Linked DNA regions of Homo sapiens: region 1 is linked to region 2. The links are contacts of gene promoters, found by promoter capture Hi-C in human tissues and cell types (Jung and others, 2019). All regions are on one chromosome and are shown on one strand. Each heading gives the region's core, a stretch centred on a gene start or on the middle of the fragment in contact. The rest is flanking DNA. Distances are from core to core; before and after follow the strand shown.

What was found. The method cuts DNA at HindIII sites, captures the fragments that hold promoters and counts their contacts. A contact is called where the count stands out against the background at its distance.
Region 1: a fragment that was not itself captured here is called in contact with the fragment with the promoter of FOXS1 in region 2 in 1 of the 25 tissues and cell types used here (aorta).

Annotation. Positions count from the first base shown.
Region 1 is chr20:32,116,412-32,119,892 of GRCh38, forward strand. All of the region lies in intron 1 of TM9SF4 (transmembrane 9 superfamily member 4), which reads left to right. Among named protein-coding and RNA genes, the nearest start is that of TM9SF4, 8.4 kb to the left of the region's middle. The HindIII fragment of the contact is 3,788 bases long and covers 1-3,481 here.
Region 2 is chr20:31,844,234-31,847,799 of GRCh38, forward strand. It overlaps FOXS1 (forkhead box S1), which reads right to left and starts at 1,371. Exons shown (of 1, transcript NM_004118.4): 1 at 70-1,371. The coding sequence starts at 1,309. The coding sequence ends at 317. It also overlaps a transcript of DUSP15 not described here. RefSeq lists an enhancer at 755-1,312. The HindIII fragment of the contact is 12,044 bases long and covers 1-3,566 here.

The DNA of each region.
Region 1 (3,481 bases), core at 520-3,019, 270 kb after region 2:
AGGAGAGCAGTACGTTTCTGCACTTGGTGGTGTCAGGGTTGAAGTCTGGTTGCCTGTTGCTTCGTGAGGGTGGTTATTAGTTTCACCTGGACTTCCGCAGTGCAGCCTGCTGTGCGTTTTTCCCTACCCCCAAATTACAGCTTTGAGTCTTTCATGTGTCTCTGTTCAACAGCTACTCTGTGTCTGTGGGCTCTGAAATAAAGGCTACATTTTCAGTTTCCTGTGGCTAATTTGTTTTTTGTTTGTTTGTTTGTTTGTTTCTTGCTCTGTGAGTTCTTTAGTTCCATGGGCCTGCTTGGTAAGTTGTCTCTAGCTGTCATTAGCCTTCATTCACATGCGGCTGGATTCTTGGTAAGCTTTAACTGACTGGATAATTGACTTCAGTTAACTGTTGGCAAACTGTGCCCAAAGCCTTTTTCTTTTTTTTTTTTTTCCTCCTTTTTCCTTTTTCTTTTTTTTTTTTTTTTTTTTTTTTTTGCTTAATCTGAGGGAGCAGTTACTGACATGGTCTCAAAATGGTGACTGTCGCCAGGCACAGTGGCTTACACCTGTAATCCCAGCACTTTGGGAAATGCCGAGGTCGGAGTGGGTCATTTGAGGTCAGGAGCTCAAGACCAGCCTGGCCAACATGGCGAAACCCTGTCTCTACAAAAATACAAAAAAATTGCCGGGTCTGGTGGCAGGCACCTGTCATCCCAGCCACTCAGGAGGCTGAGGCAGGAGAATCACTTGAACCCAGGAGGCGGAGGTTGCAGTGAGCCAAGATCATATCACTGCACTCTAGCCTGGGCAACAGAGCTAGACTCTGTCTCAAAAAAAAAAAAAAAAAAAAAAAGTGACTGTCTTTTAGAAAGAAAAAGAAGAATCTAGTCTATTGCTAAGGAAAATGCTGCTTTTGCAGTAGGAAAGGCATGGAACAGGAACCAAAAAGGCCGTTCAGATTGGCCAGATGTATTGCTGCTAGTTGATGCTATTTATGGGAAAGGAGATTGCAAGGCAGAGGGCTCCAGAAAAAGTTAACTTCTGGTTACAGAGAAATGCAAGTGAATGAAATAATTTTTCGTTCTCAGGGAAACTTCCTGTTTTCTTTGGAAGATGTTAATTGTTCACACCTTTCAAACTGGGTGGGGTGAATTTGGAGTGGCTGGGGGTACTTTTGAGTCCTAGCAGCCCTTCATTAGACAGCTGTTTGGGGGAGATATTTCTGAGTGCCCAACCCACCCCCGCCCCCCCAAGAATAAAACAGATGGGGAGGGAAAGACCTTGATTCTTGGTTCTCTTGAGCTTTATAACATTCCAGGTCACCTGTATCTTTGCCAGTGATGGCGTGTTAGATTACAGCACAAAAGGCTTCTAGATTGCCATCACCTTGTTCCTTGATATGCTGCCTTTGAGGTCTCTTTTGCTACTTGGAAACCAAGTAGCAAAAGCAAAATGACGTTGAATGGGCTGGTTCACATCTCTTAGGACTCTTTGCATGGCTCTGAACATGCAGAAGATGATTACTAAATATTTAATTGACTTTTCAGACTGAACCTCTCATGGGAGTTAATGAGGCAATCAATTAAAAATTAAAAGAAAATTTAAAGGAATTTCCTAAGAAGCAGGTACTTTGCTTTTTCCTTACAGAAAAGAACTGCAGGCCAAACATCCTCTATCAGGCTATCAGGAATATAGAAGGTGATGAAGTCATAGAATCATAAAAAGTTGGAACAGTGTCCAGGGGTTTTACCAGAAACCCATGAACTTCTAGTCCTTGATTCTCTGTGTATTGGAATATTTTTTCCGAGATCAGTATCTGTAGCTTTGATAAGTTTCTCAGAGGGATTTGTGACACCCTCCCCAAGATTAAAAATTGCTGATCTGTCTGCTTACCCACATACCTGGTGCCAGAATCCGCTCTGCATAATTCTTACCTTAGCCCACTTTCTGCACATCTTCTGTGGAACTCATCCCAGTATTTTCAGAGGCAACCCATTTCCTTCACTTCTTAAAATATAAATGAATATATGTCTTTAATTTTTTAATTTTTTTAGAGACAGGGTCTCACCCTGTCACCCAGGTTGGAGTGCAGTGGTGGAATCATAGCTCACTCTAACTGCAGCCGTCGGACTCCTGGGCTCAGGTGATCCTCCCACGTAATTATAGGTATTAGCTACTATGCCCAGCCTAAATGTATTTATTTTGTTGTATTTATTTATTTATTTATTTATTTATTTATTTATTTATTTATTTTTATTTTGAGACAAGGTCTCACTCTGTTGCCCAAGCTGGAGTGCAGTGGCGTGATTTCTGCTCACTGCAACCTCCACCTCCCAGGCTCAAGTGATCCTCCCACCTCAGCCTCCAGAGTAGCTGTGACTACAGGCAAGCACCACCATTCCTCATTAATTTTTTGTATTCTTTGTAGAGACGAGGTTTTGCTCAGGCTGGTCTCAAACTCTTGGGCTCAAGCGATCCACCTGCCTCGGCCTTACAAAGTGCTGGGATTATAGTCCTGAGCTACTCTGCCCGTAAATGTATTTATTTTTAATAAGGGTGATCCATGTATGTGGAAAAGAGTATTAAAAAGCTATAAAAGTATCAAAACATTATGTTGTGTGCCTACCATAAATATATTCAATTTTTACTTGTCAGTCTTTAAAAAGCTATAAAATGGATCAGGCGCAGTGGCTCACACCTGTAATCCCAGCATTTTGGGAGACTGTGTTGCTCATAAAGGAATACCTGAGGCTGAGTAATTTATAAAGAAAAGAGGTTTATTTGGCCAGATTTGGTGGCTCATGCTTGTAATGTCAGCACTTTGGGAAGCTGAGGCAGGTGGATCGCTTGAGCCCAGGAGTTCAAGACCATCCTGGGCAACATGATGAAACCCAGTCTCTATTAAAAATACAAAAATTAGGGCTGGGCACCGTGGCTCATGCCTGTAATCCCAGCACTTTGGGAGGCCGAGGCAAGCAGATTCTAGTGGGTGTGTGGTGGTACCTCACTGTGGTTTTGGTTTGCGTTTTCCTATTGACAAATGATATTAAATATATTTTATGCTTATTAGTCATTCATATATCTTCTTTGGTGAATTTCTGTACAAATCTCTTGTCCATTTTTAAATCGGATTGTCATTTTCTTATTAAGTGTTCTTTGTATATTCTGGATATAAGTTCCTTATCAGGTATGTGATTTGCAAAGAATTTTCCACTAGTCTTTGGCCCATCTTTTCATTTTCTTAGTGGTATCTTTGGAAGTGTAAAAGTTTTTAAATTTTTATGAAATTTAATTTATTATAATTTTTTTAATGGATTCTGGTTTTGGTGTTGTATCTAAGACATTTTTGCCTAACCCAAGATCACAATGATTTCTTATTTTTTCCGTATAGAGGTTTTTGAGTTTTAGCTTTTTTGTTTAGTTCTGTGATCCATTTTGACTTAATTTTTGTGTGTATGTTCTGAGGTTCCATGTGCATATGGCTACCCAGTGGTCCAAG
Region 2 (3,566 bases), core at 121-2,620:
GCCACAGCCACCCCCACATACAAGCAGGCACCCTGGCCCTCAGCCCCCAGCCATCAGGCAAGCTGACCCTCATCATCACATGGCTTTATTGGCCCTGAGAGCCACAGAGTAAATCCCAAGAGGCCCTGCTTCCCCTCACCCCCAAGTTTGTCCGGAGGCCCCAGGGGCCTGGCTGAGCACCGCTTCAATCCTGGCTTTCTGTGTGGTTGTCCTTGGCTCACCAGGGCTGGGTCCTTCGAGAGTTCTTCAGGTCCTAGAGCCAGGCTCAGCCCGGAGGGTGAGGGACCTGCAGGGACTGCCCGAGGTGAGGCTGCCTTTACTCAAAGAAGAACATTCCTGGCGTCCGGTATAGGCAGGGGGTCAGCCCCAATGGGTAGCCGGAGCCTCCCTGGACAGGGAAGCCACCTGCAACCCAGGGTTCCTTGTGGTCAGTTGGCAGGGGCAGTGGGGCCCGGAGTGAGCCTGGAGGGGTGGGTGGTGCAGGGGAGGGGGCTGCTGAGGCCAAGAGGTGCTCAAGGCCTGGGTCAGCCCCCATGCAAAAATTCAGTGCCTGCAGCCGACACTGGTAGCTGCTCCCGATGCCTGATTCCGGGGACAAGACGGGCGTAGGGGCCTTATTAAAACTCTCAGCCTCTGAGAAGCCGGCAGGAAAGCCAAACGCTGGGCATGAGGAAGATGAGGTGGCCACGGGGAGCTCCCCTGGGCATGCAGGCTTGGGCGTGGAAATCTCTTTGGGCTCCATGGGTGGCCGAGGCCTGCCATCAGTGGTTGCTGGGCACATACTGGCTGGCATGGCCCCCACCAGACCCCCAAAGCTTAGGCCCTTGGGATCTGGCAGCTCTGGTGGGAATGAGCACTGCCTGCCGGTCGTGGCGTTGGGGACTCCTGGGTCCTGGCTGGTCGCCCTGAGGGGTCCACGGCGTGCCTTGGCGGGGCCCCGGGTGCCCTCAGCACCTGTCTGCCGGGTGAAGCGGCGGCGGCGGCGTAGGAAGCTGCCGTGCTCAAACATGTCGTGGCAGTCAGGGTCCAGCGTCCAGTAGCTGCCCTTGCCTGGCTTGCGGTCATCGCGGGGCACCTTGACAAAGCACTCGTTGAGTGACAGGTTGTGGCGGATGCTGTTCTGCCAGCCGGGCCGGTTGTGGCGGTAGAAGGCGAATCGGCCCATGATGTAGCGGTAGATGCCACTGAGGGTGGCCCGCTGCCCCGGTGAGCTCTGGATGGCCATAGCAATAAGGGCGATGTAGCTGTAGGGAGGCTTGGTTGGCTCAGTTGTGGGGGCGCCAGGCCCGGGCAGAGGCTGCTGCTGCATGCTGGCCGGGCTGCCAGGCTGCTGGGACCTGCTGGGTCAGGCTCAGCTTCCAGGGCTGGCGTCCGGAATAGCCTGCCCAGGCTGGTTAAAAGGTCCACTGGCCCAGCCTCCCAGCCTGGAAAGGCAAAAAGGGGTGGGTCTGCTGAGCCATCCTCCCCTCCTCCCTCGCCCCACTCCCACAAGGCCCAAAAGAGGCGGGCAGGAGAGGCCAGTAGTGGGAAGCCGAGCAGCTGCCAGGGATGAGGAGTTGGGAAGGAAGGGACTGAGACCCTCAGCCCACGTGTGCTGGGTGGTGGTGGCTGGGGAGGGACAGGATGTGAAACTGAGCGGGACAGAGACAAAAACAAAATGAGACAGAGGCAGAAACATATGAAACAGAGACAGGGAAAAAAGAGATAGAGACAGAGAGAGGTAGAGACATCACAAGAGGGAGAAAGAGGGAGAGACAAAGATAAGACAGAGGCAGACACAACGGACAGAGACACCCAGAGCCTCTCAGACACTCACAGAGAGACACACAGACATACACGTACAGACACACAGAGACACACAGACATACACGTACAGACACACAGAGACACACAGACACAGACACACACACAGACACACACACACAGACATAAGCACACACACACATATACACAGAGACAGACACACACAGACACATAGGCATACACACAGACACACACACAAGCACATACACAGACACACAGAGACATACACACACAGAAACACAGAGACACAGACACAGACACACACACACACACACACACACACACACGTAGTATACGGAGAAAGTGAGAATCACTGAGCAGGCAGAAACAAGGAAATCCACAAAGCCAGAGAGAAAGGAGATACTGAGAGACACAGGTGCAAACACAAGGAGTGAAAGGAATGAATAGAGAGAGAGAGAGAGAGAGAGAGAGAGAGAGAGGAGAGAGAGGCAGGGCCTGAGCCCAGTCCCCCTAGAGTGAGAGAAGCCCCAGGGGCTTCTCTAATCCCTACCTCTACTCCTGCTTTTCCCTCTTCTCCCAGGCCTGTGGTCTACTGCCTTCTCCTGCGGTGCAGAGGCCTTGGGGCCACACCACTCCTACCCCATCCTCCTAGCTCTGGGGTGTCTGCAGGGAGGGGCACCTAGGATGGTAAGGAGAGCCCATGAAATTCAGTTCTGCTGCATCCCTGTCGCCCCCTAGTGACTGGTGTGGGAAGGACAGCTATCTGGGGAGAGACATTCTCCCTCCCAAGAGGCACCTCAAGACCTTGGCTGAGCCTCAGTTTCCCCATCTCTAACATGGAGCTGGTGACTCCTCAGCTGTCCAGGCCATGGTGGGGAGGCAACAGGTTCCCCTTACACAGAATGCAGCACCCTCATCAAGAGCCTAGTATGGAGTAGGGATATGAACATGGCTGCGGATTGTCACTCTGAACTGAGGCTACCCCAGCTGCAGCCTGGGGTCGGGAGGTCCAGAGAGTCAGGCCCAGAACAGTCAGGCCTTCTGGAGGAGGGGACGGCATCCTCTCTGCTCTCCCACTCCCAAGTCACTGCTCACCCACTCTGTACCAGGCCAGCTCACCTCCCCAACCCTACACTTACTTCTTCAACCAACCCTGCTCTGGAGGGCTTCATTGCTTCTTTTGAATAGATGAGGGCTCTGAGGCTCAGAGAAGGTAAGTAAATTCCCTGATGTCCCACATCTAGTGAGTGACAAAGCTGGATATGAGCCTAGGATTCTGTAATTCCTAAATACTGCCTCTTCAGTGAGGGGCAGGGGTAGCGGAGAGTCGCTGGGTCCCCACTAGAAAACAGAATGTGAACTCCAAGAGAGTAAAGAGCATGCTGTTTTGCTGTACCCCCAGAGTCACACACTGGACACTGGAACAGAGGCCTGGAACAGAGTAGGTGTTCAAGAAATGTCTGCTAAATGACTAAACAAACAGCAATTGATTGATTTCTGTCCTTTATCGAATCACAGTTTTCCCCCCATGAAGGTGGCTTATTAATGTATCATTAAAAGAGACTTACAATATTGGCATCTGTAAGAGGATTCCTATAAATAAAATCAGAACTCAGAAAAGAATAAAAGGCCTGATATGTGGGGTGGAAAACAGCTACTTTATTCCCATGGCAGGGTAACCAACTTTCTGGTTGTAGTCCCCCTTTCCAGTTCTCAGATTGCCTACAACGTACAGCTTGCAAAGACCAGTGGGGCTTGGAGAAGGGCTGGTCTTCCACGTTGACCTCTGCCTTAGGGCTGCA